Linked DNA regions of Homo sapiens: regions 2, 3, 4 and 5 are each linked to region 1. Evidence: promoter capture Hi-C in human tissues and cell types (Jung and others, 2019). All regions are on one chromosome and are shown on one strand. The core of a region is centred on a gene start or on the middle of the fragment in contact, and the rest is flanking DNA. Distances in the headings are between cores, read along the strand shown. Region 1 holds the start of DIP2A (disco interacting protein 2 homolog A). Region 2 has its middle 30 kb from the start of S100B. Region 3 overlaps DIP2A (disco interacting protein 2 homolog A). Region 4 overlaps PCNT (pericentrin). Region 5 overlaps DIP2A (disco interacting protein 2 homolog A).

Region 1 (6,320 bases), core at 2,634-5,133:
CACTCATTACCAGTTTCTGTTGAAGACAGCATCTTTGTCACTGTTAAGCTTCTTCTTCCAACCTACCAAGCACAGTGACAACTCTTAAGTTTTAGGCAATTTCTCACTTAGATAAATGTGAATGCTATAAAAAAGTTACACTATTTTGACAATATATAAAAATTATAACAATGAAACACTAATGTTGGTTGTTTTAGGACTATAACTCATTACTAATATCTCCCTTTAATTATATAAATAAAACACCTTACCAGTTTCGAAGCATTTTCACACACACTATGTGACTGAATCTTGACAATAAACCTGGAATGTCAATAAAGCTGGTATTCACCCCCTTTTACAGCTAACTAAACCCACGTTTAGAGACATTGTAATCCACAGGAGATTCACAGACACTTTACCAGATGCCCACCACTGTGTGAAGAAGCCAAAAATCTGCCTAAAACAAAGTCCTTACCAGTAAGCATCTCCAAATCCAACAGGGAGAGCCCACGTCAACAACAACCACCACATAAACTACATAAGCCAGCATTAACCTGTGGAAGCGCCCTGGAAGCAGGTCCACGTGTGACTGTGCCTAAGTAATCACTGACCTATTTTGGCCAAAAGAAAAGTGTCAGGCCAGTCTAGGAGCAGGGAAAGAAGCCAAGAAGCCAGAGCTTCCACCTCCTTGGCTGCCACTCTACTACTCTGTTCTCTGCTGTCTTCCCTTTAACACTTTTTTTTGAGACAAGGTCCCACTCTGTCTCCCAGGCTGGAATGCAGTGACACTATAAAGGCTCACAACCTCGTCAGGTGATCCTCCCACCTCGGCCCCTCAAGTAGCTGGGACTACAGGCACACACCACCATGCCCAGCCAATTTTTTTTTTTTTTTGGAAGAGGCAGGGTCTCCCTATGTTGCCTAGGCTGGTCTCAAACTCCTGGGCTCAAGTGATCCTCCTGCCTGGGCCTCCCAAAATGCAAACATAACAGGCCTAAGCCACCATTTCTGGGCTCAATACTTTTTTTGTTTACCCCCTTTCTCAGCTTAAGCTATTTTTCGAGGTTCCTCTCCATGTTACATAATCTTATACCTTTACTTACCTATACATCCCCTACATATCTCTAAGATGACAATAGCATAAATGGATCCAACAGATAGGAAACATTTCTTTCATTTAAGTACTTGTGTTCTGTCGCACAAATTATAAAGTTCTTTGAGGAAAGGATTCAATTGTCAATGCCTAGCAAGCACTCAAACACAACTACAACACAAAAAATTGAGGGAATAATGAATACATTGGAGCAGAAATTAGGAGCAATACGCAAAAATATGTTTGAAATGCACAGAATCTAAACTGCGTATATGTGATTTTCCCTAAAGAGCCTTAACAAATGCAGTACAGTAGATCCTGTCAAACCCATTCCTAATTTAAGTTTGTCAGACTGCCTAGGAGCATCTAATCACCAAGAATTCTCAAATCCATCCATTTCTTTCCTTTTTTTTTTTTTTTTTTTTTTGGTGAGAAGAGACAGGTTCTCGCTCTGTTGCCCAGGCTGGAGTGCTCCAGTGCTCAGGTGATCCTCCTGCCTCAGCCTCCCAAGTAGCTGGGACTACAGGTGCACACCACCATGCCCAGCTAATTTTTTTTAATACTGTAGAGACAGAGTCTTGCTATGTTACCCAAGCTGTTCTGAACTCCCGTCTCCAAGCCAACGTGGCCTCCCAAAGTGTTGGGATTACAAGCATGAGCCACTGTGTACTCAGCCTGTACTTCCATTTTTAAAAATGTGCCACAAGCCAGGCACGGTGGCTCATGCCTGTAATCCCAGCACTTTGGGAGGCCGAGGCAGGCGGACCACCTGAGGTCAGGAGTTTGAGACCAGCCTGGTCAACATGGTGATACCTTGCCTCTACTAAAAATACGAAAATTAGCTGGGCGTGGTGGCAAGCCCCTGTAATCCCAGCTACTCGGGAGGCTGAGGCAGAAGAATCATTTCTACCTGGGAGGCAGAGGTTGCAGTGAGCCGAGATCACGCCATTGCACTCCAGCCTGGGCAACAGAGCAAGACTCCGTCTCAAAAAAAAAAAATGTGCCACATGTCACAACATTGTTAAAAATCTGAATGCTGAATTCAAAATAGTTGCAAGTACATGTTGTATTATATGTAAAACAAGATCACAACAGCATCTACCTCCCTAAGGTTGGCAAGGATTAAATGACTTACTGTATGCTAGTGCATATTATTTAGATGTTTTGAGAAATAACTACCCCAGACCCAGCAAAATCTTATCAATCTGAAACTTAAATTAAGGATAATAAGATTATTTAAAAAATGGATTCTAAAAGCTGAAAATGCATTTAGATCTCAAAAACAGAGTAAGAATCAATTACATGCTTTTCTTCAAGGACTGCAAGTCCTTTCTGACACTGGAGAAGAACTTAACTCTTTCCCAAAGACAGCCAAAAGGAATATCAGGACACAGGCCTTGAAAGGGATAACATCCAAATGGGAAATGCCACCCACCACCTCTGAAGCCAGATTACTCCAGTCTATTTTTATCAACCAACCATTTATACGACTTTTTTTTTTTACTTTAAAAAATTCCATGAGGGGGCTAACAACTCCTAAGTGTTATGTGCTTTGCATATATTAAGGTATTTTAGCCTCATAACAATCCAAAATGGAAAGTGCTGGTATAACCCCACTTTATAGATAATAAAATGAGGCACAGGGTGCAGCTCCTAGAGTATGAGGCGCGCGGCAAGGGCTCCCAGCTCCAAGGGAAGTAGCTGCCTGCGGACAACGGGCGCAGTCATCCTGGTGAAGCCCAGACCAAGCCCAGACCTACAGCCTTGAGAAAAGCGGGGCTCACAGCTTGGGGCAAAAGTGGTCATTCCTCTCAAGATTCTCACACCTGTCCAAACGACCTAGTCAAAGCCAGTCCTTGGGGTCGGATCCCATTGGGGGAGCAGCTGGGGATAGGGAAAGGTCTCCAGAAGTTTGGCAGGCGTCCCGGGGTGAGGAGTAAGGGTCCCAGGTGTGAAGGGCCTGGGGGGAGGAGTCCTTGTATGGGGGAGGGGTCCTTGTATGAGAGGCGGGGCAGTGGTCCCTGGTTTGAGGGGCCGCGCGGGTGTCCCGGGGCTGAGGGTCGGGAGTCCGGAGGGGCAGCGCGGGGCTCCCAGGGTGAAGGGCGGGGTCCCCGGGGTGAGGGGCCGCGCGGGGTTCCGGGGGTGAGGGGCAGGAGGTCCCGGGGGTGAGGGGCGGGAGTTCCCGGGGGTAAGGGGCCGGGGTCTCGGGGCGAGGGGTCGTGCTGGGGTCCCACATGAGGGGCGGGGTCCTAGGGTTGAGGAACGGTGTCTCCGGGGCGAGGGGCGGGTTCCAGGGTAGAGGAACCGGGGTCCCGTTGAGGGGCAGAGGTCCCAGGGGCGAGGCCGCGTGGGGGTCCCGGGGGTGAAGGGCGGGGGTCCTGGAGTGAGGGGCCGCGCGGGGGTCCCGGAGTGAGGGGCTGCGCGGGGGACCGGGCTGAGGGCGGGTCGCGGGGGTTGAGGGCGGGGTCCGGCTCACCTTCCGACAGCTCCAGCTCCAGCTCAGCCAGGCTCTCCCGCACCTCGGCAGGCAGCGGCGCCGCCTCCAGCGGGCACCCGCGGTCAGCCATGGCCAGGCCGGCTAGCGTCCGGGCAGAGGCTGGAACCGGACCGGGCCTGGCGGCGGCAGCGCAAACCTCGGCTACGTAGCTCCCCTCAGGCCAACAACCTACATCCGCCAGGCGAGGAGCGGGAGGCGGCGGGACAGGGGCGCGGCCAGGACAGCAACGCACCCGCGCGGGCACGAGCGCGGATGGCTCCGCCGCGCCGCCGCTGCCCCGCGCGCTCCTGAGCGCCCGGCCGGCCCTACACGGGAGCGCGTGCGCGGCGGGAAGGGCGGGTAGCGAGCGCGCGTGCGCAGTGGGTCTCGGGCCCGCGCAGCCCTCCCGGCCCCGCCCAGCAACACCAGAGCCTCGCTTCCATTGGCCCCGAAGACGCGTCGATGCCGCTCCGGGCTCCCATTGGGAGAGGCGGGAGAGCGCCGCTCCCGACAGGCTCTGCGCTGGGCCTGCTTGAGGGTGGCGGGCTTGAGGCGGGCAGGCTGCTTAGTTGCGGCCCGAGGCGCCTAAGTGGGGATGACCAACCCGTGGGCGTTGGCGCTGACCCCTAGGCGCCGCTGGTGGCCCCGCGCGCGGCCCTCCGGCCAGCCCCGCCCCTCTCGGGGCTCCTCCTTGGTCCCCGCGCCATGGCGCGTCCGCGTTGACCGCTGTCTTCCCTTTCGGGCTGTGCTGATCGCGAACGCTGCGCAGTCCGTGGTGGCGTCGAGGCACCTTTCTCGTGCCTTTACCTGTGTTCACTCCTTTGCTTTAAAAAACAGCCCTAGAAGTACACATCGTTGGCCCCGAAGGAGCCCCAGCAGCCATGTCGGACCGCGAGGTGACCTTGGAGGGCGGGAGGACGGACGAGGGGCCTGGCGGAGCTAGACTGAGAGGGCGCCGCCGGCGTCCTGAAGGCCCTGCTCCCCGAATGTGTGGGAGTGTGTCTGACGGTGCGAGGGTGGCTGTGGCGGGGCCTGAGCAGCGTGTCCGTGTCCCGATGCCGCCCGCCTGTTACTGAGTTAGGCAGGAGTGCCCGAGTCTGGCGAACTTCAGCAGTTCTCGTTCCAGAGCTCCACACGAGGTTGGCCAAAGCTTTGCGGGACTTACATACCCTTCTTCCTCCGCCCAGTCCTGCTTCCTTCCCCTTCCTTTCACGGGTGTTGATACCATGTCAACATCCTCGTACCCCAAACTCAGTCGCAGCGTCTGCTTCTGGAGAAACCATTCTGCAGCATTAAAGCTGGTGAGAAGATGGGATTCGAGGCTGCATCACTCACCAGTGGTGAAGTAGGAGGGTGAACTAGTGAAATGGAATCCACGAGTGGGTGAAGTATCAGACATTTCATATATGGTGAACGTAGTAGATAAAAGGAAGGAAAGGGGGATTGGATAGCTATTGCTTAGTGCCAACCGAGACTCTTAAGAATAGTGGTCAGCTGAAGGCAAGCAACAAACAGTTGTAAGCCAGTGAATCTGTCCCGTTACATATAGAGAAGCTTCATTTACTGCAGCAGGTCAAAGACAAGAACCAGGCCCAGGAATTAACATCCCTGTTTGACTGAACTCCAAAAATAGCAAAACACCCAAACAAGGCAATACTCTTCCACTAAGTTTGGATCCCTGCTAAGAAAAGATGAGGCTGGGCACAGTGGCTCACACCTGTAATCCCAGCACTTTGGGAGGCCAAGGCGGGAAGATTGCTTGAGTTCAGGAGTTCAAGACCAGCTTGGGCAACATGACAAAACCCCATCTCTACTGAAAACACAAAAAATTAGCCGGGCATGGTGGCCACGGCTGTGGTCCCAGCTGCTTGGGAGGCTAAGGTGGGTGGATCACCTGAGCCCTGGAAGTCAGGGCTGTAGTGAGCTGTGACTGCACTCCAGCCTGGGCAACAGGAGTGAGACTCTGTCTTTTAAAAAAAAAAAAGAAAGAAAAGAAAAGCCCGTCATACATGGGTTGGAGATACCTGGGTAGATGCCTTCAAAGGTTTTGACTCCCCAAACTGCCTTAAACCTTTTTTTCGTAGACAGTGTCTCACTCTGTTGCCCAGGCTGGAGTGCAGTTGCTGGATCATGGCCCACTGTAGCCTCAACTTCCTGGGCTCAAACGATCCTCCCACCTGAGCCTCCTAAGTAACTGGGACTACAGGTATGTGTCACCACACCTGGATACATTTTTTATTACTTGTAGAGGCAAGGTCTTGCTATGTTGCCCGGGCTTGTCTCAAACTTCTAGGCTCCAGTGAGCCATCACACCTGGCCTGCCTTGAACCTGAAGCCTGCCGGGGTGGCTCACCTCTCCTATTAACCTGACACTACTCCTCCTCCCTCCACTTACTGCTCAGTAGATGTATAATTATGGTTGTTTCTTTTGCATTATTCAGCTGGAAACAATGAGATAGAAAAGAGAATATAGCTCCCTCCCCCTCAGAAGAACTGCGTTATTAGTTTGCTGGGGCTTCAGTAACAAACTGGGCAGACATTTATTGTCTCCCAGTTCTGGAGGCTAGAAGTCTGAGATCAAAGTTTTCACAGGGTTGGTTCCTTCTGGGGCTGGGAGGGAGAATCTGTCTCATGCCTCTCTCCCAGCTTCTGGTGGTTTGCTGGCAGTCTTTGGTTCCTTGGCTTATAGAGGCATTGTCCCAGTCCTGCCTTTATATTCACATGGTGATCTTGTTGTGTGTGTCTCTCCAGACGAAGGCATAAGTAACA
Region 2 (6,320 bases), core at 2,520-5,019, 120 kb before region 1:
CTCCTATTCAACATAACATTGGAAGTTCTAGCAAGGGAATCAGGCAAGAGAAAGAAATAATGGATATTCAAATAGGAAGAGAGGAAGTCAAACTGCCTCTGTTCACAGATGACATGATCCTATATCCAGAAAACCCCATTGTCTCAGCCCAAAAGGTTTTTTTTGTTGTCGTTGTTTTTGTTTGTTTGTTTTTTGAGACGGAGTCTTGCTCTGTTGCCAGGCTGGAGTGCAGTGGCACAATCTTGGCTCACTGCAACCACCGCCTCCCAGGTTCAAGCAATTCTCCTGCCTCAGCCTCCTGAGTAGCTGGGACTACAGGCACACACCACCACGCCTGGCTAATTTTTGTATTTTTACTAGAGACAGGATTTCACCATGTTGGCCAGGATGGTCTTGATCTCTTGACCTCGTGATCCACCCACCTCGGCCTCCTAAAGTGCTGGGATTACAGGTGTGAGCCACCACGCCCAGCCTCCAAAAGCTTCTTAAACTGATAAGCAACTTCAGCAAAGTCTCAGGATACAAAATCAATGTGCAAAAGTGACAAGCATTTCTATACACCAACAGACAAGGCAGAGTGCCAAATCTTAAGTGAACTTCCATTTACAATTGCTACAAAGAGAATAAAATACCTAGGAATACAGTTAACAAGGGAAGTGAAGGACCTCTTCGAGGAGAACTACAAACCACTGCTCAAGGAAATCAGAGAAGACACAAACAAATGGAAAAACATTCCATGCTCATGGATAGGAAGAATCAATATCGTGAAAATGGCCATACTCCCCAAAGTAATGTATAGATTCAATGCTATTACCATTAGACTACCATTGACATTCTTCACATAATTAGAAAAAAAGCTATTTTAAAATTGATATGATACCAAAAAAAAGCCCATATAGCCAAGACAATCCTAAGCAAAAAGAACGAAGTTGGAGGCATCATGCTATTGGACTTCAAGCTATACAGCAAGGCTACAGTAACTAAAACAGCATGGTACTGGTACAAAAACAGACACATAGACCGGTGGAACAGGATAGGGAACCCAGAAGTAAGACTGCCCATCTACAACCATCTGATCTTTGACAAACATGACAAAAACAAGCAATGGGGAAAGGATTCCCTATTTAATAAATGGTGCTGGGAGAACTGGCTATCCATATGCAGAAAATTAAAACTGGACCCCTTCCTTACACCTTATACAAAAATTAACTCAAGATGGATTAAAGACTTAAATGTAGAACCCCAAACTATAAAAACCCTAGAAGAAAATCTAGGCAATACCATTCAGGACATAGGCACGGACAGAGATTTCATGATGAAAACATCAAAAGCAATTGCAACAAAAGCAAAAGGAAATTGACAAATAGGATCTAATTAAACTGAAGAGCCTCTGCACAGCAAAAGAAACTATCATCAGAGCAAACAGACCACCTACAGAATGGGAGAAAATTTTTGCAATCTATTCATCTGACAAAGGCCCAATATCTAGAATCTACAAGGAACTTAAAACAAATATACAAGAAAAAACCAACCTCATTAAAAAGTGGGCAAAGGACATGAACAGACACCTGTCAAAAGAAGACATTCATGCGGCCAACAAATATATGAAAAAAAGCTCAATATCGCTGATCATTAGAGAAATGCAAGTCAAAACCACAAATGAGATACTACTGTCTCACACCAGTCAGAATGGCAACTATTAAAACGTCAAAAAACAACAGATGCTGGTGAGGCTGCAAAGAAATAGGAATGCATTTACAGTGTTGATGGGAATGCAAATTAGTCCAATCATTGTGGAAGACAGTGTGGCAATTTCTCAAAGACCTAGACCCAGAAATACCATTTGACCCAGCAATCCCGTTACTGGGTATATACCCAGCGGAATATAAATTATTCTATTACAAAAATATATGCACATGTATGTTCATTGCAGCACTATTCACAATAGCAAAGGCATGGAATCAACCCAAATGGCTGTCAATGGTAGGCTAGATAAAGAAAATGTGGTACATTTACACCATGGAATACTATTCAATCATAAAAAGGAATTAGATTGTGTTCTCTGCAGGGAGATGGATGGAGCTGGAAGCCATTATCCCCAGCAAACTAACGCAGGAACAGAAAACCAAACACCACATGTTCTCACTTATAAGTGGGAGCTGAACATTATGAACACATAGACACACAGAGGGGAACAACACACACTGGGGCCTGTTGGGGGGACACTGGGGGAGGGAGAGCATCAGGAAAAATAGCTAATGCATGCTGGACTTAGGTGATTGGTTGATAGGTGCAGCAAATCACCATGGCACATGTTTGCCTATGAAACAAATCTGCACATCCTGCACATGTACCCTAGAACTTAAAAATTTTTAAAAATTGCCATCGGGGGTCACTTGCTTTCAGTCTGATGGACTTTCTTTAGTATTTATGGTGATGTCAGCCAACAACAAAATTTGCTTATCTAAGAATGTCCTTATTTTGCTTTCATTTTTCAAAGGTGTATACCTTTTGTATATCTTATTTGGAGAACTGTCTTACAGCTTTTTCTTTTTCAAAATTGCTTTGTTTATTCAGAGTGTCTTTAGATTCTATATCAATTTTAGAATGAGTTAGTCTTTCTGCAAAAACCATAATTAGAATTTGGATAGGGACTGCCTTGAATCTGTAGATGGCTTTGAGTAGTACTGACATCTTAACAATATTAAGACTTCCAATCCATGAACATAAGATGTCTTTCCACTTATTTCTTTGTATTGTTCGATGTTTTCCATTCAATGTTTTGTACTTTTCATTTTATAAGTCTTTCATCTCCTTGGTTAATTCCTAAATATTTTTTGATGCTATTGTCAATGGAATTGTTTTCCTGATTTCCTTTTCGAATTGTTCATTGTGAGTGTATGAAAATGCAACTATTTTTGTGTGTTGACCTTGTATCCTGCTATGTTGCTAAATTTATTAGTGCTACTTTTTTTTGTGGAATCTTTAGGCCTTTCTACATATGAGATTATATCATTGGCAGAGATAATTTGAATTGTTTCTTTCCAATTTAGAATCCTTTTTTTCTTGCCTAATTGCTCTAAGAGCTTCCAGTTCTGTGTTGAGTGGAAGTGACAAACGCAGTCATCCTTGCTGTGTTTCTGATCTTATCAGAAAAAGCTTCTGCAGATTTTCACTACTGAGTATGATGTTTGTTGTGGATTTTCATATATGGACTTCATTATGTTGAAGTAGTTTCCTTTTATTCCTAGTTGTTTTTTTCTTTAATCATTATAGGGTACTGAATTTTGCCAAATGCCTTTGCTGCATCAATCGAGACGATCACATGTGGTTTTTCCCCTTCATTCCATTAATATGGTTTATTACATTGATTGTTTTATATATTGAATCATCCTTACATTCCAGGAGTAAACCCCACTTTGTAATGCTATATAGTGTTTTTAATATGCTGCTGAAGTCAGTTTGCTAGTATTTTATTGAGGATTTTTACATCAATGTTCAGAAGGAATCATGGTCTGTAGTTTTCTGTTTTTGTAGTGTCTGACTGGTTCCAGTATCAGGATAATGCTTGCCTCATAGAGTAAGTTTGAAAGTTTTCCCTCAACTTTCTGAAAAAGTTTAAAAAGGATTAGTGTTAGTTATTTAAATGTTTGGTAGAATTCACCAATGAAGCCATCAGGTTTTTGTCAATAGATCTTTTATTACTTAAATCAATCTCCTTACTAGTTATAAGTCTACTCAGATTTTCTATTTCTTCATGATTAGTCTTGATATGTTTTGTGTTTTTAGGAACTTGTCTATTCTAGGTTTTTCCATTTGTTGGCATACAATTGTGCATAGTATTTTTTAATGCTTTTTATTACTGTAGAATTGGTAACGTTTCCAATTTTATTTCTGATTTTAGTAATCTGTCTTCTTTTTTTCTTGGTCCATCTAGCTAAAATGTCAATTTTGTTGATCTTTTCAAAGAAACCATTTTTGGCTTTCTTGATTTTCTCTGTTTTTCTATTGTCTCTCATCTATTTCTGCACTAATCCTTACTTCTGCTAACTTTGGGTTTAGTTTGTTCTTCTTTTTTAGTTTCTTAAGTTGTAATGTTAGTTTGTTAATTTGAGGTCCTTCTTGGTTTTTAATGTAAGCATTTATAGCTATAAATTGCTTCTTTAGCACTGCTTTTGCTGGGTCCCATAAGTTTTGGTACATTGTTTTTATTTCCAAGTATTTTCTAATTTTTCTTGTTATTTCTTCTTTGATCCATTGGTTGTTTGAAAGTGTGTTAATTTTCACTAATTTCTGTATTTTCTCAGTTTTCCTTCTGCTATAGATTTTTAACTTTATCCCAGTTTGGTTTAAGGAGAGACTTTGTATATTTTTAAATCTATTGAGACTTAATTTGTGGCCTAACATGTTGTCTATCCTGGAAAATGTTCCATGTGAACTTGAGAAGAATGTGTATTCTATTTTTATTGTTGGGTAGAATGTTCTGCATATGTCTGTTAGATCTAGTTAGTTTGTTGTGCTGTTTAAAGCCTCCATTTCCTTACTTATGTCTTATTGTTCCATCCATTATTCAAAGCAGGGCACTGACATTTCCAACTATTATTATAGAACTGTCTATTTCTCCTTTCTCCCTTCTATTGTCAGTTTTCATTTCATATATTTTGATGATCTGTCATTGTATGTGTAAATGTTTACAATTGTTACATCTTGCTGAATTGAATCTTTTATTAATGTCCATCATTTCTTGTAATCATTTTTTATTTAAACTATATTATTATAGCTACCTCTGCTCCCTGTTGATTACTATTTGCATGGAATATCTTTTTTTTTTTTTTTTTTTTTTTTTTTTTTTTTTTTTTGTGAGAGAGGGTCTTACTCTGTCTCCCAGGCTGGAGTACAGTGTTGTGATCTTGGTGCACTGCAATCTCCACCCATCAGGCTCAAGGAATATTCCCACCTCAGCCTCCTGAGAAAGCCACAATGCCCAGCTAATTTTTGTATTTTTTTGGTAGAGATGTGGTCTCTTCATGTTGCCTAGGCTGGTCTCAAATTCCTGGGCTCAAGAAAACCACCTGCCTCAGCCTCCCAAAGCGCTGGGATTACAGACATGAGCCACTGTGCCCAGTGAATATATTTTTCCATCCTGTCACTCTCAATATATTAATACTGTGTCTTTGGATGTGAGTCTCTTGTAGACAGCATACAGTTAGATCCTGTTTTTTCCCCATTCTGCCAATCTCTGTCCATTTAATCTATTTACAGATAAAGTAATTATCAATAAGGAGAGACTTACTTCTGTCACTTCATATTCTATATGCCTTATATCTCTTTCATTTCTTGTATTGCGCCCTTCTGTGTTTTTTTTTAATGAAACATTTAAATCCCTTTCTCACTTCCTTTTGTGCATACAGCCATGCATTACTTAACAACAGAAATATGTTCTGAGAAATGTGTTTTTAGGTGATTTCATCATTGGGGGAACAACATACAGTGTATATGTATCTACACAAACCTAGCCTACAACACACCTAGGCTATATGATATAGCCTATTGCTCCTGGGTTACAAACCTGTCCACCATGTAACTGTACAAAATACTGTAGGCAATTGTAATGCACTGGTATTTGTATATCTAAACACATGTCCAAATTTAGAAAAGGTAGTAAAAATACAGTATAAAGGATTAAAATCAGTACACTTGTACAGGGCACTCAGTCCATTGTATGTTGCTTATAACAGAACACCTGAAATTGGCTACATTATAAGAAAAACATGAATTTATTTCTTAGAATTATAGCAGCTGAGAAGTCCAAGGTTGAGGGCCACATCAGGTCAGGGTCTTCTTGCTGGTAGGGACTCTCTGCAGACTCCCAAGGTAGTGCAGGGCATCATATGGTGGGGGCGCTGAGCATGCTAGCTCAGGTCTTCATCTTCTTACAAAGCCATCAGCCCCATTCCCATGATAATCCATTAATCTATCAATCCTTGAATAGATTAATCCAATCACCTCTTAAGGGCCCCACCTCTTAATACTGCCACATTGGGGGTCACTCAAATCATAGTAAGTACTTACCATTAATGGAGCTGGTAGAACTCAAAGTTATTTTGGGTGTAAGTGGTGAATGAATGTGAAGGCCTAGGACATTACTGTACACTACTATAGACTTTATAAACATTGTACACTTAGACTACACTAAACATAATTTTTCTTCAATAATAAATTAACCTTAGCTTACTGTAACTTTATAAACTTTCAAATGTTTTTAAGTTTTTGGCTATTTTGTAAAAACATTTAGCTTAAAACACATTGTACAACTGTGC
Region 3 (6,320 bases), core at 1,760-4,259, 91 kb before region 1:
GATTCCAAATCCCGGAAGCTTTGCCAGTCCATATGAGTCAGGGCCCCATCAGGACAGAACCTGAGATCTGGACTGGGACTCAAAGCCCGCAAGGTCTGGGATCCCACTGCATCCTTAGGGAAAACCCAGCGACCCCCAGCCTTATCTGCATCCCCTACCTGGGACCACCTGGCCCCCACCACACTGGCCTCCTTTCCTGCCTTGAGCCACTGGGCATCATTCTTCATAGCCCCTGCTACCCAGTTCCATTCAAAGCCCCCTCCCCAGCACTCCAGGTTACATCACTCCACTGTATTGATACTGAGGTTCACACCATAAGCTGATTTTACCTTGGTCAATGATAAATCACTGGCTGGTTTGTAGGCTTTAGAACTCAATCAATCATAAAATAAATGTTTACTGGGCATGGTTCTAGATGCTTCCAATACACCAGAAAAACAAAGTCTCTCTCCTACGGAACTTGTTTTCTAGCAGGAAAGACTGATTTTAAGCCTCCTGAGAGTAGGGGTCCTTTTAATCTTATTACTGTGCACTGTGCACATTGTAGGCATCATTAAGTATTTTTTTAATTCGAATGAGCAGCACCAAGAGCTAGAAGAGCATATTCTAAGCCACAGTGACCTACTCTTTACGACACCAAAGCTTAAGAGTTCTTACAGCTTGTATGGTGCGTGGGACAGGAAGCCTTGCAGGGTTTTAAGTTATTTAACTTTCTGTGTTTCCGCATTTCGCATTCCTGCCCACAACCTGAATATGAAGATTACAGCTTCTCCTTCTTGACATCCTGAATGTTCCTAGCACAGTGGAATGCACACAACAGGAACTTGAAACACATGAGAATTTCCAAATCAGCAGCAGGAGCAGGGCAGGAAGCAACATTTGTCATTTAAAAGCTGTAACCAAATGTAGAAATTCTAAATGGCTAATTTTTTACAAAATAAACATTTCCTTTTAGCTCACAAACTTAGGAATATTTACATGTATACTGTTTTTAATTTTAAAAACTTGAGCTGATAAAAATTTTCCTGCTAAACACAAAATCAATAGAAATACTATTGTGTGAAATGTGTGGAAAACAAGAAAGGAAAGGGCAGGCAGCGAGAACCGCACCAGACAAGGGGGCTGAGTCCACAGGCACCCTGCTCTCTACGCATGAGAACAACCAGGACGGGGGCTGAGTCCACAGGCACCCTGTTCTCTAAACATGAGAACAACCAGGACACTGGCACCATGAACTAGACAAGCAAAGGGCTCCACCGGCCCACAGGTGTTTCCAAGCCCCGTGGGCGTGACACTGCCTCACCTTGGCGTTCAGCAGCAAGAACAGCGGGTGGTCAGGAGTGGTGTGGGCACGCCACTGCAGCACGTCAGCCAGGAACAGGAACTGCACGAGAGGGCGACTTGCTCACTGGCGCCTCCGGGGCACAGACACCCGTCCACCCGTCCCCGGAACTGGCCTGTCACCTTCCGTGCCTGGTCGCTGTCCTCCAGGTGGGCGAGCTCTCTCCCGGAAGCCTGAGCGATTCTCTTCCCAGCAACCAGGTTCCCCACGATCATTGAGGCTGGTCCAACCTCTAGAAACGGGGGAACTCTGAATGAAAAGCTGGTGACTTCTCATATATAAACATCACGTGATTTTATTTACAATTTTTATTTTGAAAACATACTTGAATGAGGCATTTAACTCTTCTACTGAGATACAAATATTCAGAAAGCTAGCTACAAGGTTTATGCTAAGTGACAAAGAGAATTTCTCTCTTGAACATAAACTACGCCTTATTGAGAAGTTTACTACACGACGCATCTCAGAGGATACGATTTGGCCTCAGTCACAGCAAAATTCTTAACATATTTTGTTTTACTGTACTTTATGTATAAATCAGGAAATTAAATCTTCCTGATGAAATGTATTTAGTGATATGTGTTCAATAATTAATAAAAAAAAACTTTGGCATGTACTAAAAATCAACAGGACCAAAGAAATGAAAAATTGCATTAAAGTTAAACCAGTCTCTAAAATTAGCTTTTAAATGTATAAAATGAGGGAAGGCAAGTTGGCCGTTTGCTGAGAGATTTCCGAGGCCACACAGACACTGGGTGATGTGATGTGTCCAGCTCGTCCAGCTCCAGGATGATCCTGGGCAGCATTTCTAGCCCTAGGGAGCCATCTCCTAGCCATGCAAAGCTAAGATGCCATCCTTGAGTTTATCATTAAAATTGGTTCCTAACAGGCAGGTGGAAACCACCATGCAGGTGATGTGGTTAAGTTCCCCCATGCGTGGCTGGTTCCAGGAAGGCGGGAGGTGGCACCATTCTGGGGTGCACACTCGCTCTGGCTCTTGACCCCAGCCCCAAAGACGTGGGCAGTTGGCACTGGAGGTCTAGCAGGGCCGCACCCTAACCACAAGCACCGCTGTTACCACTGTTAGACTAGAGAGCATCCTGTTGTTAGGTTCAACTAACCTGGTTGTTTCTGACGAGGTTTGGGGAGGTTGGTAACACAGGTGTGAGGGCACATCAGCACATTACACGGGTGCAGCGTCCCTTCCAGAAAGCGCTGTTTGGTTTCAGAAATGTGAATCCCTCCGAGAGGAGCCTTGGGCAAGGTGTTGGCAGGAACCAGGGCCAGACAGTACACGCCCACCTGGTGGATGCTATCAATGGCCTGAAAGGGAAGGACCCTGTTTGGCACAGGCCCCCAACTTGAGGCTGGGGAGATGCTGGGTGGGGGACAGGAACATCCCCTCTGTGGACCTGTTCCCCAGGCCAGGAAATGGAATGCCCTCTGGACACTTTGTTAAATGAGGAAACAAGATGAAGAGAAGTGTGTGCAGTTTTCTACCATTTAACTCAGAAAGGGGAAACACACACACTGTATTTGTGTACACATGTCCACAAATCTGTGATCAGAGGCTGAGGGATGGGGCAATGAGGAGATGATGGTGAAAGGGCACAAAGCCTCAATTAGACAGGAGGAGGAAAGTTTTTTCTTTGAGATATATTGCACAGACTGGTGAATATAATAATGTACATTTCAAAATCACTGTGAGAGTGCATTTCAAATGTTCTCATCAGAAAAAAATAAATATTGAGGTGATGGATATATTAATTATTCTATATTGTATTCATAAATTATAACATCACTTTGTATCCCGTAAATACATACAGCTGTAATTTGTCAATTTGCAATGAAAAATACAGATAAACAAAGCTGGAGCCAGGGAGGACCGGGCGGGACAAGCCAACCACTTGGCACTTGGAGTGGAGTGGGGGTGCCAGCTTGGGAGATTCACCGAACCATAGGCCGTGCCGGGGCGCCCACCTGCAGCACACGGCTCATCCACTGGAAGCTGTCCTCCTCCGAGGCATCCGGCCGCTGCTCAGCCACCAGGACAATCCGGTCGTCGTGCAGCACGGTCACAGAGAACACAGCGATCCTGCGGGATGAGACATGGAAATGGCCACACGGCAAGAGGCCAAACAAGACACAGATGCATTCTCACCCTCACGATGGAAGAGGCAGACTGTCCTAGTATTTAAAATGCAGTCTATCAAATGGGGCTACCTGCTGCACATTCAAAAAGTAACTCATCATTCTAATCTCCTCGAGGATGGTTGAAATGTGTCTCAAGTCACAAAAAACAGAGGACTTCAGGACAAAGCAAAACAGCTCCAAAGACACACATTTTTACAAGAAAAAATTCCTTAATCTGATGTAAATTTCCTTCTGCACAAATCTTTGTCTAAAAGTTCTATTTATTATATTTTTTTAATCCAACAGATCGCATCTCTATTTTACTAGAGTTAGTCTATTGACATTTATAGTGATTAGTATATTTAGACGTGTTTTTACTATCTTAAAAATTTCAACATGTCCTCCTTTTTTCTGTGTTGCCTTTTCCTTCTTTTAGACTTTGAGTTGATATCTTTGTCTTTTCTTTCATAAAGTAAGAAGATGGTCTCCCCACCAAACCCATCATGTTAGGATGTCTACCATTCTGACTCTGGGACATTATGGATATACCGTCTCTTGTCCTTTCCTTTGACTTGACTGGTGTGTGTGTACACACACACACACACAATTTACACAACAGACCTCACCTAGTACTGAGTTCTCCTTACTCTCATACATCTTATAGCACATCTTGAATTTATTTCTCTTAGTATCTTGACCAAAACTGTTTTCAGTACGGACCTCTGTGTGTTAAAACTTCTGAAACTTACATGCTTAAAAATATTTTTTATTACAACTGCACAATAAAGTGACAATTTGGATAAATTGGGTGCACTGTTATCTTGTGCCAGTTCCACTGTGGGGAAGTCTGATGTGTTTTGCTTGGCTTTTGTGTGGTCCATGGTGAGAATACAGATAAGCTCAACATGCCATGGGGCCCTCTGTGGACCACTTCCCAGTCCAGAGAACCCCAACCACCTGCTTCCTCAGACAATCCCTAACCACCACTAAACATATCCCTTCTCCTTGAGTCTGCTATCTGGACACCAGCCCTTATTCTCTCCCATCTCTCTTAATAGTTCCTTTAAAGTTCCTATTTTACTTCCAGAGTAGTTCCCTAATCTGACTTTCCACCTTCTCTACTTGTTCTCTAGCTGTATCCATTTTATGTATTCCATCTACTGTGTTCTTTGAACAATTACTTTGTTAGCATTTCTTGATCTTAGTTCATGTTGCAAATCTTCTATTGCTCTTCTTCCAATGGCACATATACTCTCAATTGGTTGTGGTTCCACTTCCAAGCTCCTGTATTCCTCAGCTCTTCCCTAGTGGGGACAGGGAGGCTATCCTGCCTGCAGACGCAGTCACCATCAGGTACAGGTGGCCCTGCGAGGGGGTGGTCTCCCTGCTCCACCTCAAAGCAGGGTTTGGGCTACCTTGATGTTATCCCTAAGGACACCTGCCCAATGTGTCCCCCATTTCTGCTGTGAGGGGGGTCATGACCCTGGCTGTGCCACCCTCCCCCTGCACGCAGGCGCACACAAACACACACACACACACACACACACACACGCACACATGCATGAGCACAGCCTGCCCTTCCCAGCCCCCTGAGCAATCTCCCACCTTCTCTGTTGTCCATCCTCTGGGCTTTTTCCTCAAGACTAACCATGATGACACACCACTTTGCAGAATCCCCTCACGATTGCTTTAAGGGCTACTCAAAGGCAGGGTCTGACCTGGCTCCCAAGTACCTTAGTTTGAGTAACAAAAGGCACATCCTTGGCCAGGCACATTGGCTGACACCTGTAATCCCAGCAGTTTGGGAGGCCAAGGAGGGAGGATTGCTTGAGCCCAGGAGTTCGAGAGCAGCTTGAGCAACATAGTGAGACCCTATCTCTACAAAAAAATTAAAAAATTAGCCAGGCGTGGGGTGCATGTCTGTGGTCCCAGCTGCTCAGGAGGTGCGGTAAGAGGACTGCTTGAAGCCCAGGAGGTAGAGGCTCCAGTGAGTTATGGTCACACTACTGCACTCCAGCCTGGATGGGCAACAGAGTGAGACCCTATCTTTAAAAAAAAAAAAAAAAAAAAAAAAAAGGCACCCCCTTGAGAAAAATAAAATTTAAAAAGGCAGCTGGTTGAGTGGACCAGTTAGGGGAAGAGCTTCCTCCCAGACAAGGAGCTTGGGAGTAGAAGAAGCAAAATTCTCTTCCTGGCCCCTGTGCCCAGGGGCATAGGCCCAGAGGTCTATTATTTGCTCAAGAGAATCTCTAAGGTCCTTGCTTTACACATGTAGAAAAGTTGAGTTGATTTTTATTCCAGAGGCAATGGAGGGTGTCATGTGTCTCGCAGAGAAAATGGCACTTTTCTGTTTTAATTCACATTCCAAGGTTATTAGGAACTTAGACCCATTTCTCCTTTGCTTTACTCAATTCTTCCCTCCCTGATTTGTCCCCTTGAGCCTTTGCCCCAAATTTTACATCAAAACCTTATTTTCTTAAGGAATCCAAGGAACTCTTTGGACAGTAAGGATATTAACTCTGGTATCATTGCTGCAAATATTTTCCTTTTACTTTAGGAGTTTTCTGATGTACAACAATTTTTAGGCTTTGTGAATTCAAGTTTGCTGGGCTTTCCATCTACTGCACAAAGACTTCCCGAGCTGCAAATGAAGGAATCTACTCCCGGCGTGGGGGTCCGCAGCGCATCACCTGCCTCTGTAGACAAACTTCATGGGCTCCACGGCCAGTGCGGTGGCCACAACGTCATCTGCATTGTGTCTGCGAACTCCAGTGACCATCAGCCCGTCCAGTTTGCCCACGATGAAGACCAGGTTGTCCTGAGGGAAAGGGTGTGCGTCAAGACT
Region 4 (6,320 bases), core at 1,293-3,792, 79 kb after region 1:
ACCGTGAATGCGCTTCCGCCACTGAATGCACACCGTGAATGCGCTTCTGTCACTGAATATACAACACGGTGAATGCGCTTCCGCCACTGAATGCACAGCACTGTGAATGCGCTTCCGCCACTGAATATACAACACTGTGAATGCGCTTCCGCCACTGAACGCACACCGTGAATGCGCTTCCGCCACTGAACGCACAACACCGTGAATGCGCTTCCGCCACTGAATGCACAACACCGTGAATGCGCTTCCGCCACTGAATATACAACACCGTGAATGTGCTTCCGCCACTGAACTATGCACAACACTGTGAATGAGCTTCTGCCACTGAATGCACAACACCGTGAATGCGCTTCCGTCACTGAATATACAACATGGTGAATGCGCTTCCGCCACTGAATATACAACACCGTGAATGCGCTTCTGCTGCTGAATGCACAGCACTGTGAATGCGCTTCCGTCACTGAATATACAACACTGTGATTGCGCTTCCGCCACTGAATATACAACACTGTGAATGCGCTTCCACCACTGAATGCACAACACCATGAATGCGCTTCCACCACTGAATGCACAACACCGTGAATGGGCTTCCGCCACTGAATGCAGAACACTATGAATGCGCTTCCGCCACTGAATCTACACTATGAATGCGCTTCCGCCACTGAATCTACACTATGAATGCGCTTCCGCCACTGAATGCACAACACCGTGAATGTGCTTCTGCCACTGAATGCAGAACACTATGAATGCGCTTCCGCCACTGAATATACAACATGGTGAATGCGCTTCCGCCATTGAATGCACAACACCGTGAATGCGCTTCCGCCACTGAATCTACAACACTGTGAATGCGCTTCCGCCACTGAATGTACAACACTATAAATGCACAACACCATGAGTGCACTCCTGCCACTGAACTGTGCACTGAAATAAAGTGAAAATGATTTTTATGCTATACACGTCTTATCACAAGGGAACAGCGTATTCCACACACCTGCTGGACTTGGTGATTCTTCTTTTGAAGCTGCAGAGACAAAGACTCTTTCTCCTCTTGGTGAAAAGGCTGTGCCTGTGCACTCTGAAGCCGAAGTGTCTCCTCTTTTTCATGCAAAGCAGTTTTCTTTTCACTTCCAAATTCACCCTGTACACATCAATAACAATAAAAAATACCAGTAAGCTAGAAAAATACTTTCTTTGCTGTTAGCCGGAATTCAGCACATTCAGCAGATATGCATGGAGCCCCCACTCTGCACCAAGAGCCGGGATGAGCCAGACCACAGCCCCCATCAAAGAAAACATGGGTTCAAGGACTTCACTGGGAACACAAAGTCCTGGTTTCGGGGATAAAACACTTAAGGAGACACAAGTTCGCACTGGTGACAGCTGCGTGTCATAAGCAACTGCTCACTACCATTCCCAAATGGCTCCTGTAACATCTTTAAGAGTCACACTAAGAAGTTCACCATCAAGGAATTACAGCCATGAAAACCCAAGATATTTGGAAACCTAGGTTCCTTCCCTTTTAAAAGATTAAACCTTCTTTCTAAATAACAAAACCTTTTAAATAAGGTTCAATAGATGAATTCTATACACACACACACACACACACACACACACACACACACACACACACACACAGAGATTTTTTTTTTTTTTTTTTGGAAGGACTCTTCTCTGTCACCCAGGCTGGAATGCAGTGGTGTGATCTCAGCTCACTACAACCTCTGTCTCCCAGGTTCACGGGATTCTCTTGCCTCAGTCTCCCGAGTAGCTGGGATTATAGGCGCCTGCCACCACACTCAACTAATTTTTGTAATTTTTCTTTTAGTAGAGATAGGGTTTCTACCAAAACCTGTTGGCCAGGCTAGTCTGAAACTCCTGACCTCAAGTGATCCACCCACACTGGCCTCCAAAAGTGCTGGGATTACAGGTGTGAGCCACTGCACCCGGCCAATTAAATTAATGAAATAAGCTTATTTTTTTAAACTTCCAGAGGTAGCACTTCTAGAATGGCAAAGTAAGGACCTCCAAAATCTGTTCCTCTATAAAAGAAAAAGTGGTAAAAACCATCAAAACCAGTGTTTTCAGAGCTGTGGAAATCTGGTCAGGTTTGCAATCATCCGAAGAGTGTTTATGGAAAACACAGGCTGAGTGTCCATAAGAACAAACTTCAGGTGCTTAACTTTGCCCTGACTCCATATCTCCTCTCCAATCTAACAGCCCTGAAAACCAGTAGCTGCTGGGGTGGGGTGGGGGACAGAATGGATTTGGAGCACCCCAAAATTTCCATGCACAACTGCCCGAGCCCACCTGCCGGGCACCTTGCTGCCGTGACTGGGTCAGAGCTCTCGGTGTCAAAAATTCTACCCAGGGTTGGCCGGGCGCGGTGGCTCACGCCTGTAATCCCAGCACTTTGGGAAGTCAAGGCGGGCAGATCACAAGGTCAGGAGATCGAGACCATCCTGGCTAACATGGTGAAACCCCATCTCTACTAAAAATACAAAAATTAGCTGGGTGTGGTGGTGGGCACCTGTAGTCCCACCTACTCGGGAGTCTGAGGCAGGAGAATGGTGTGAACCTGGGAGGCAGAGCTTGCAGTGAGCCTAGATTGCGCCACTGCACTCTAGCCTGGGCGACAGAGACTCTGTCTCAAAAAAAAAAAAAAAAAAAAAAAAAAAAAAAAAAAAAATCTACCCCAGGGCACCGGTTGGAAACAGTCAGTGTCAAGTGTTTAATAGCCGCACTGCCCACAGTAGAGAAACCAGTTGGGACTAATAAGGGACTGCCAGAAAAACAAAAGAAAACACTTGAGAATGCGATGTCCACAGGGGCCTCTGGAAAGCTCTGACATCTTCTGGGACTCTACAAGGTGTGAACACGTGCAGGGCTGTGCCCACGCTGGAAAGGCCCAAGAGGTCCTGGGCCGGCTGCAGTGACCATGTGGCTTGGCACAGCAGGGGTGAAGGCCAGGGCCAGGCTGTCCACCGCCCGCCAGAGCCCTGAGGGCACAATGCACGCAGGGCCCTCAGCAGAGAGAAAGACTGAAATAGAGCTCCCTTGACATCTGGAGCTGAAAAATACAATCACAGAAAAAAAAATTCACTAGAGAGGGGTTCGGCAGCAGACTCGAGCAGGCAGAAGACAGAATTCACACGCTGGAAGATAGGTCAATTAAGACGATCCAGTCAGGGAACAGAAAGAAACATGAAGAAAACTCAGCAGTCTCCAAGGCCTGTGGGGCACCCTCAAGCCAGACAGAGGGAGAGAAAAGGGCAGAGGAACCCTTGAAGACACGACGGCCAAAAACCTCCCAAATTTGATGAAAATAACAATAATAATAAAAATAATAATCCCCACATACAAGCTCAATGAACTCCAAGTAGGACAAACTGACAGAGACCCACACTTCACCCATCACAGCCAAACCTCAGCAGGGTTCAGGACAAAGCTTGAGGCCAGCCAGTGCACAGCAGGTATATGGGTGCCGCTCAAGACACGTAGCCCCAGGAAGATGGGTGCGGCTCACGACACGCGGCCCGGGAAGACGGGCGCGGCTCACGACACGCAGCCCAGGAAGACGGGCGCAGCTCACGACACGCAGCCCCGGATGACAGGGGAGGCAGCGGAGAGCCCACGCAGCACTGAAGGAAAAGCCTGGATCTTGAAGTCCACATCCAGGAAATGATCTCTCAAGGATGAAGGAGAAATTAAGACATTCCCACAAAAACAAAAGCTAAGAGGATTCATCACTAGCAGACCTGTCCTTCAAGAAATCCCAGAGGAAGTCCTTCGGGCTGAAACATAAGGCACCAGACCTGAATTTCCAGGAAGAAACGAGCAGCAGTAGTGCAGGTAACGACACAGAGAAAACAGGAGACAAAACAACATGGCTTTTGTTTACAATTCTTCTTCCTCCTGGTTTAAAAGACACGTGCATAAAGTAACGAGCACAAAAAGATAGAAAGATGTGGTTGGTACGACAATATGAGCACAAAGGGCAGACGAGGGAATGATGCTACATTAGCAAATGGTTTTGTAAACTTTTAAAATTAAGTTGGTATTAATCCAAACCAGATTGTTAGAAGGTGCTTGCTGTAACGCTCAGGGCAAGCGCTAAGAAAATAACTCAATATATATCAGTCCCCTTTGTCTGCGGTTTCAGTTACTTGTGTTCAACGTCATTTTGAAAATATCGTATGAAAAATTCCAGAAGTAAACAACTCTTATGAGTGTTAAACTGCCTGCCCCCAAGCTGAACGGTGTGAGGAAATCTCGCAGGCCAGGCCGGGGGTCATCCTTCTGTCCGGCGTTATCCACGTGGCAAGCACTACCTGCCCACACGCAGGCATCTCGGTGATCAGACCAACTGTCACAGCATCACAGTGCCTGTGTTCAAGTCACCTTTACTTCATTTAATAACGGCCCCAAAGCGCAAGAGAGGCCGTTCAATTGCAATGCTGCAATTCAGACGTGCCAGAGACACCATAGAGTGATGCCTTTCAGTTAAAAGTTGATGACGGAGCAATTCAGATATGCCAGAGACACCACAGGGTGATTCCTTTAAGGTAAAAGTTGATGACAGGTATGTATAGACAAAAACAGCATATAAGGGGTTCAGAACCATTCACGATTTCAGGCACCCACTGGGGGTCTTGGAATGCATCCCCTGTGGGTAAGGGGCGACCACCGTATGGTAAAGGAAACATCAAGGAAATTAAAGTGAAAAAAGGCAGTAATGGAGGAATACAGAACAAAAAGGGCATAAGATATGCAGAAAACACATACCAAGCAAGTATTGACACATGCTACAACGTGCGCCAACCTGGGAAACACACAAAGTGAAAGCCGCGGACACCGAGGGCACACGCTGAGTCTATGTACGTAGGACGCCCACAGGTACGGCAAGCAGACGGCACATCACCAGGCATGGGGGAGAAGGGAGAATGGGGAGTTTCTTGTTTTCTTCCTTAATTTTCATTGATTATCTTTTGAGACAACGTTTTGCTGTCATGCAGCCTGGAGTGCAGTGGTGCGATGTCAGCTTGCTACAGCTTCAACCTTCTGGGCTCCAGTGGTCCTCCCACCTCAGCCTCTGAGTAGCTGGAACTATATGGGCACGCCAACATGCCAGGCTAATTTTTTTATTTTTAGTATTTTTTTATTTTTGGTCTTGAACTCCTGGGCTCCAGCAATCCTCCTGCCTCAGCCTCCCAAGGTGCTGGGACTATAGGCACGAGCCACTGGGGGTTTCTTTTTGAGGTGATGAAATATTTTAGAATAAACTTTTCTCAGCTCTAAGATAAGTGATGACAGATTCTTGGTAGAAAAGGTGTGTTACACAGCAGATTTAAATATAAAAAGGCCTGACAAAAGTTGCCTAGAAAAAGCTCAGTTTTAAGACAATGAAATTATTTTGTGTTTTGACTTGGCATGTGAAAAGGTAACTGATAAAGTAAGTTTTTTGTATCTACTTAGCAGGCAGGAAAGGACAGCACGAAGCCCATGTCCTCAGCAGTGGGACCTGCTGCTCCGGGACCTGCTGCTCCAGAACATCTGGGGTGGATTGCCGGCTCCCGCTCCCTGCCCAGCACGGCCAGGAGGGCTGAGGGCTGGGGCTCCACCAGCTTCAGGAGGAGGAAGACGTCAACAATGAGTGAGTGCCTTTTCTGAAGTAACTGGGGCAACAGTTTCAATAAACACATGGAAGCCCTGACACCAGAAATGACCTTTATTCTCTACCTTTTTTTGTGTGATAAGCCATGGGGAGGAAAAGGATAAAGGATCGGGTGCCCCCCGCGCCGGCCTGGAACTTGCTGAGGTGCCAGGTGGGCTGTGCATCTGCATCTTAGTCACAGGGACCAGAAACGGGTTCGCACGGCACAACACTGAAGTCACTCGCAAGGTCTCAAGGCCATTTGGAATGTGAGTACAGTTCACTTTAATCAACTTTCTCTCCTGGATTTGATTTAGTTCCATCTGTTTGAAAGGAAGGACTTAAGATTAACTTCTGAGCTGTGCACACTACAAAGTTTCCAAAGAACTTTAATTACCTTGCTGATACCCCAACCATCAGCAGTGCGTCTCCTGGGGGACAGACGCATTGATCCGGACCAACAGCCAGGGAGGGGGCAGCGGGCCAGGAGTAAGAGGTCCAAACAGGGATGCTGGTTCAGTGTACACCAACCACAAAACGCTGGTGAATTCAAGAACAAAACCCCAAATGCCAATGCACCCGGCAGGACAGAGGCCAAGGGACTGGGAAAACAGGAAAATTAATCCTCAAGACCAGGCGCCACCATGGTGCCCACAACAGCTCATGC
Region 5 (6,320 bases), core at 2,296-4,795, 75 kb before region 1:
TAAGCACCAAAGGTCAGTTCAAAGAGATTTCCCTAAAGAAGGGTGAAGGCCCTGACCATGGTATCCGTTACCTTTATAGAAGCACACTTTCTGGATCCAGGAGAGTGGGTTCGCCTTCATCAGCGCGTAGGGGACGCTGACCACGTGCATCCTGTTCATGACGCTCTGTGGGGGAGCACACATGCTTAGGGCGAGTGGGCCCGAGCCACACCAGAAAAAGCAAAACAAAACCGATGTACTCTCCCAACAACATTTCAGGCAGAGGCTTGGGTTCATCTCAATCCCTTGTTCCAACAGTTAGTCATCAGCAAACAACACTCACTGTTAACACGCCATGCCACAGACCAGCATCCCTTTTGAAATCCAGCACGTTTGTTAATGTTTCAGCTGCAAGTGGACAAAGAAGGTGACACCACTGAGCAACCCTCTCAATAAGCCCTATGCATTTTCTAGAGAAATTCTGAGGTGAGTACGTCATCAACATGTAAGTTTCAGGAACAGATACAGCATTTCCAAATACCACATACCAATTAATAATAATCCTGGTTATCTATTCAAATTACTGGAAACACATAAAAGTAGAAGGTCATGGAACTAACACAGAGAACCACGCTGAGCACTAATCAGAAGGCACAGGAACATCACATACTGAAGAAGCTATACAAGGTGTCACCACAGCTTGTCTTTTCTTCTTTTTTTTTTTTTTTGAGACAGAGTCTTGCTCTGTTGCCCAGGCTAGAGTGCAATGGAGCAATCTCAGCTCACTGCAACCTCCGCCTCCCAGGTTCAAGCAATTCTCCTGTCTGAGCCTCCCGAGTAGCTGGGACTACAGGCATGCGCTGCCATGCCTGGCTAATTTTTGTATTTTTAGTAGAGAAGGGATTTCACCACGTTGGCCAGGCTGGTCTCAAACTCCTGACCTCAAGTGATCTGCCCGTCTCAGCCTCCCAAAGTGCTGGGATTACAGGTGTAAGTCACCGCACTCGGCCTCTCCACATCTTCTCATCAGATATTTTTGAGTGGGTATTCTTCTCAGAATCAAGAGGTGGGGATGAAAAACTGTCAGGGATATTCTTACTTCTCAACTCTACACCACATCTCCTCAATTCTCACACCCAGAGGCCGTGATCCGGCATCTCCCCTCTGTAAGAGCTGGTGGTTTGCATCACCCTTCGGAAAGTCACTCTTCCTCTGCCCGTTTTCTCACCCAGAGGTATGCAGCTAACACATCTTAGGAAGCTGGAGTGGATAGGGGTCCTGAGGGTTCCCAGCACAGCTCTCTGCTCAGAGCCCCTGGCCAAGTCTTCTCTAATATCCGGCTCCCACCTTGCACAGGCAGAAAGGACAGAGCCTGGGGCTGTGGGCAGACCTGGCTTCTCGCCAAAGGCCACAGCACTCCAAAGGCAAACAGGAGAGGTTTGATTTGTGTGCCAGGAAATGCTGTTGCACCATGAATAACAGTACTATAAACACCCTTTCTCTGTTGGTTAAGAACACAAATTATTATCATTATTATTTAGAGACGAGGTCTTATTACGTTGCCAGGCTGCAGTGCAGTGAATATTCATAGGCACAATCCCATTACTCATTGGCATGGGAGTTTTGACCTGCTCCCTTTCCTACTTGGGTCGGTTCACCCCTCCTTAGCAAGCTGGTGGTTCCCCACTCCTAGAAGGTCACCATGTTGCTGCCAAACTTCGTGCAGATACCTGGTTAGCACAGCCCACTACAGCCCAAAACTCCTGGGCTCAGGCGGTCCTCTTACCTCAGCTTCCCGAGTAGCTGGGACTATAGGCACACATCATCACGCCTGGCTAAAGAACCCAAATTGTAGGTGACATATGTAAGATCAGCTCTGAGCTGAAGACAAAGAAAGTCACGGGGCTTGATCTGAAAGATCTAACTTTTTTAATAAAGCCCTTAAAAAATACCTAAAATCACTTTCCAAATCTCAAGTAAAAGCTTTAGCTGTGCCCTCAACTTATACCCTTGCTTTTAAACACCTATATTTTTTTCTTTTTTAAAAATTCTATTTAAAATTTCTCCCTTTTTTTGTAGAGACAGGGTCTCACTATGTTGTCCAGGCTGCTCTCAAACTCTTGACCTCAAGTGTTCCTCCTGCTTTAGCCTACCAAAGTGGTGGGATTACTGGTATGAACCACTGCACCTGGCCTGAACACCTATATTTTAGATATTTAGACATACCATTCAATTTCACTCAGTAGTTTTGTTCAATTCTAGTATTACAATGTAAGAAAACTACTGAGTCCATTTTTACAGTTTTTAAAATTGTCACAGTGTACCCCATAAATATATACAATTAGTACTTATCAATTAAATAATATTAATTTAAAGATATCTCAAGTTAAGTATCTGACATTTGAAGTAAATCAGGTGCTGACTATACTTTATCAACAGATCATCTATAACCATAAAGATTCTACTTATATATTTATATCCATGACAGCTGAGGTCAAAACTACAGTCATAGATAAAGTAATAGAAAACTAAAAGTGTTTTCCTCTTTTTGAATGAAAAATGCCCTGACCCTCAGTATGTCACAGAGTAAGCCAGCCCCCCAGGGCAGGCCTGTGAACCCAGCACTGTGTATAAATCAATCAGTGGGATATAGGTTCCATGTTCCATAAAATCAACATCCATGTGCATTTACTGAAAACAACCCTGATGGGGTTGTCTGGACTCTGCTAAGAGACACCGTGTGCCCTCTTGGCCAGCACAACCACAGAGACCCTGTAAGCATGCTAAAGACAGTGCATCTCCCTACCTGGCATGACCCGGATTAATGGGCAAAGGCACTACCCAGGGGTGGTTTTGACAGGTGCAGTGACAGTCACATGATTAGGTACGTCAGGTATCTGTGTGAGGCTGGAGGGGCCACCGCCCCACCCCCGAGAGCCCTTACCTTCTGAGTACCCGCACGCCTGGGTCAGAGCCCGGCACTGTGCCAGCAGGGATGCGTGGGACACTGTGACCCCCACCGTACTGCCTTCTTTGCTGGTTTTATACTGAAAGATTTCAAGGAAAAAAACATGATGTGGTATTTCTAGAGGTGACAACAGACAGAATGGAAACTGGTAGAATCTTCAAAAGAAGAAGTGGTCAGTGTCTCTCCTCTAACCATCGGCCTCTAACCAGCAGCCCAGGTACATGGCAAAACCCTGGCCGCTGAGGGGATGCTTCAGTGGAAGTTGTGGCTCCTCTTGGGCAGGTGCCCGAGGGTAATGGTGCGCCATGGGCTCCCTCATAACTGTCTGCATCCCCAGGGAGCCAGTTAGGAGAGAATTAGATGAGAGAGAAACCTGGAAGGATCTGAGCAAGGATTTATATGACACTCTGTATTTCCAGGGCAGAGATAAAACAAGAACTCTTAGGCCGAAACTTAACAAAAAAGAATAGCAACTTACATTCTTATGAAAAGCAAGACTTAAGCCTGTGGGACATGTTTTTACATTCTCTAAGTTAGGAACAGTCATTACCTCAATGTAGGCAGTCCCAGTCCCTGTGTCCTGGGCCAGAGGGTGCCAGTCCTTTGGGGGCTTGGCTAGATGCTTCCCATCAATCACTAGCCAGGAGAGCGGGGGCCAACCTGTGACACACAGACAGGACACAGAACAGCAAGCAGTCAGAGGCATCTGCTCCCCACACTCGAAGCCTGCGCCTCCAACATGCAGCACTAGCTACTGAGCGAATAAGGAGTGCAAGTTTTAGTCTCATTTCATTTTATATAATTTAAAAAGGTACATCCGGCCAGTGGCTACCACATTAGACAGTACAGGTCGAGACATGAAGCCAGATGAAAACCGAGATTCACCAAGGACTCGAACAAGGGATCACTTTTGCTGAAGACCCAGACACCTCTGTCATGTTTAATTTCTGGAACACCATGCATTTAACACAGACCACAGTCAGAACACTGACTCCCCTTCCCTTGGGAGGCCTCACCTTTGAAAGCTGCCACCTCTCCTGTCTGTGCCTTGGGGAGGCCTTTCTGACAAGCGTCTGTGGTCAGGGCCAAGAAGACTCCACAGCTGCCCAGCAGAAACCCAACCTGCTGGCTGCCTGCATCCTGCAGAAAGCAGAGTGACCGTGTGGGGTGGGGTGCTCACAGCAGCCACAGCCCCAGACCCTTGGTGCTCCAGGCCATGCACAGAGAACAGATCTTTTTTTCATCCCTCATAAAACTTCCAGAATAATTCAGTCCCATTATTGATATATATGATCTTTTCACGGAAATAGTTCATGAAAATGTGACAACTATGTTTAAATTTAAAAGATAATTTTGGTTTGTATTTGTGTTGAAATATAAAGTTTAATGGGCTAATTTCTCAAAGTTTATTCTTACAAATGACATTTAGAAGCATTTTTAATAAACTCCAAAGTTAATGGCATTGAAATTTCTATTGAATCATGTTTGAAATTTACAAATTAATCTAGAGAGGCCTGGTCACCAACGATATTAAATTATTTCCACACAGAAACACATTTCCTTGTAGCCAAGTCTTCTGTGTCCCTCAGCAGTATTCTGTCATTTTCTTCATATAAATTTGACAAATCTCTAGTTTTACTCCTAAGAACCACTGCATTCAAATACCTGCCCATCACATATTATGCTTTGAGATACACTAGTTTGATTTGCAAATTTTACTTTTGGGATTCTTGAATATTTCTGGATAATGCTCCTGTTAACAACTGCCTGAATTCTGGGACAGGATGACAGAAAACTGATTTTCTCAAATTCATGCCTTGTCTATTTTTTTTCAGTAATCATATTATTGATAGTTATATCAAAAATGTTACAGATACCTAGATCAGCAAGACCCCACATTAATAATTTATCAGCAACAGAAACTGCCTACGGTCATATAAGTGAACAGAAATGCAAGATAATTTCCATCTCGTTTATTCAAAACTGCCACTGAGAAGTGAGCTATATCACTGTAATGATATATTTATCCCTAAGAAATAATAATTATTTTCTATAAACATATGGTTTTGAGGAAAAGTTGAACAAAATCTTATTGAATCATAATTCTATTCATTAGAGGAAAAAATGGCTATCATTTCTGTTGGGAAATTCATGTAGATGATAGAACAGCTCCACCTAATAAGAGTGTGGTGTGGGAGCATCACCAGCAAAACGGTTCTCAGTGCCCCTCTCATTAACAAGAAGAGAGGCAGGCAAAACGGCATCTGATTTCTCTTGAGTCCTGGCCAGCCTGTTGACTACTAGCTTTCTCTCCTCTGTCAAAACAGCTGCTTGCTGCCTGCCCACATGAGTGAAAAGGAAGTAAGATACTGCTGGTATCAAGTTCAGAAGCGAACCACACGGGACCTGAGCCATGGGTTTGCTACCTTTCTTGTTAATGGCACTTCTATGGGGACAGGAACCAGCTCTGCCAGGAGACACCCATAAAATGCAACCATGAACATCACAGGGTCACTATTCGGAAACACGAGCGCCACCTACAACAGGACAAAGAAATGAATATTCCAAATTTCCAATTTTTACAATATCTAGTTAAATTAAAAGCTAGTTATAAATAAAATTTTTGTAAGCCCCAAATATTGTAATAATTGTGCTTGAAACCATAAGGGACAAGTCCAAATAGTATTTAACTGAGTAGAGACAGTTGACTCAGGGCCTTTGAGAACACGCAACAATGAATAACCAATAAGTGCTGACTTTGTAAGACAAAATTTAAGCTGTATCTATATTCTGTACTTGAGGTCTGGAAATTTAGTTTCTAACAAGTTTGTTTGTTGAAAAGGGCAAGGTTCTCCTTCAAAATTTGGTTTTAACAGTGGTTGCCCAGAATGTAACCTATAACCTTCAGACTAGATGTTTGGTATGGAAAGTATATTTTTACAGAATTTGTTAGGAAGAGCTGTGCTCACTTTTATAAAGTGTAATATTATAGGAGGCAGAATTTGCCACCAATTTCTTCAACTCAATCACTGTGACCTTGTCCATTTTATTATGATTCACCTAACCAAAGAGATTCTCTTGCAAGTCAAGAATCTGAAAGTCTTTATCCTTGTAAGAATGTTTTTCAAGAAAATTAGTGATTCTTGAATTCATTCTAAAGCGTTGCATAAAATCTCATCTATGAGCACAACATATCATAAAGTATTATTCTTAAACTGTTTACATTTTTATAGCCAAGTACACATTTCCTTTCTTTTCTGATAACAGCTACCTCCATTTCTACTTGCGTTGCTTTCTGTGTATTCTCTAGCTAATTTGTTTTAAAATACTCCCTCAGCTGGGTCAAATACCCACCTACTGGTGGGTCATTTTC

Evidence for each region. Contacts are between HindIII fragments. The study calls those that stand out against the background at their distance.
Region 2: a fragment that was not itself captured here is called in contact with the fragment with the promoter of DIP2A in region 1 in 5 of the 25 tissues and cell types used here (H1 embryonic stem cells, dorsolateral prefrontal cortex, heart left ventricle and 2 more).
Region 3: a fragment that was not itself captured here is called in contact with the fragment with the promoter of DIP2A in region 1 in 4 of the 25 tissues and cell types used here (IMR-90 fibroblasts, dorsolateral prefrontal cortex, mesenchymal stem cells and 1 more).
Region 4: a fragment that was not itself captured here is called in contact with the fragment with the promoter of DIP2A in region 1 in 8 of the 25 tissues and cell types used here (adrenal gland, heart left ventricle, liver and 5 more).
Region 5: a contact is called between a fragment that was not itself captured here and the fragment with the promoter of DIP2A in region 1, in 5 of the 25 tissues and cell types used here (IMR-90 fibroblasts, adrenal gland, aorta and 2 more).

Annotation. Positions count from the first base shown.
Region 1 is chr21:46,456,454-46,462,773 of GRCh38, reverse strand. DIP2A (disco interacting protein 2 homolog A) reads right to left here and starts at 3,883. Exons shown (of 38, transcript NM_015151.4): 1 at 3,552-3,883. The coding sequence starts at 3,642. It overlaps LOC124905046 (a long non-coding RNA gene), which reads left to right and starts at 4,061. Exons shown (of 2, transcript XR_007067915.1): 1 at 4,061-4,447. DIP2A-IT1 (DIP2A intronic transcript 1) reads right to left here and starts at 303. Exons shown (of 4, transcript NR_046400.1): 1 at 252-303; 2 at 11-62. RefSeq lists enhancers at 2,690-2,759, 4,530-4,669 and silencers at 3,480-3,549, 3,740-4,289. The HindIII fragment of the contact is 5,308 bases long and covers 1-4,903 here.
Region 2 is chr21:46,572,185-46,578,504 of GRCh38, reverse strand. It overlaps a transcript of DIP2A not described here. Among named protein-coding and RNA genes, the nearest start is that of S100B, 30 kb to the left of the region's middle. The HindIII fragment of the contact is 3,898 bases long and covers 1,821-5,718 here.
Region 3 is chr21:46,546,888-46,553,207 of GRCh38, reverse strand. DIP2A (disco interacting protein 2 homolog A) reads right to left here. Exons shown (of 38, transcript NM_015151.4): 21 at 6,166-6,293; 22 at 3,323-3,437; 23 at 2,464-2,665; 24 at 1,465-1,574; 25 at 1,304-1,384. Among named protein-coding and RNA genes, the nearest start is that of S100B, 55 kb to the left of the region's middle. The HindIII fragment of the contact is 5,357 bases long and covers 331-5,687 here.
Region 4 is chr21:46,376,515-46,382,834 of GRCh38, reverse strand. It overlaps PCNT (pericentrin), which reads right to left. Exons shown (of 47, transcript NM_006031.6): 16 at 995-1,141. Among named protein-coding and RNA genes, the nearest start is that of PCNT, 56 kb to the right of the region's middle. RefSeq lists an enhancer at 3,277-4,057. The HindIII fragment of the contact is 6,085 bases long and covers 1-5,584 here.
Region 5 is chr21:46,531,291-46,537,610 of GRCh38, reverse strand. It overlaps DIP2A (disco interacting protein 2 homolog A), which reads right to left. Exons shown (of 38, transcript NM_015151.4): 10 at 5,374-5,484; 11 at 3,964-4,087; 12 at 3,498-3,607; 13 at 2,924-3,026; 14 at 323-387; 15 at 72-165. Among named protein-coding and RNA genes, the nearest start is that of S100B, 71 kb to the left of the region's middle. The HindIII fragment of the contact is 5,555 bases long and covers 768-6,320 here.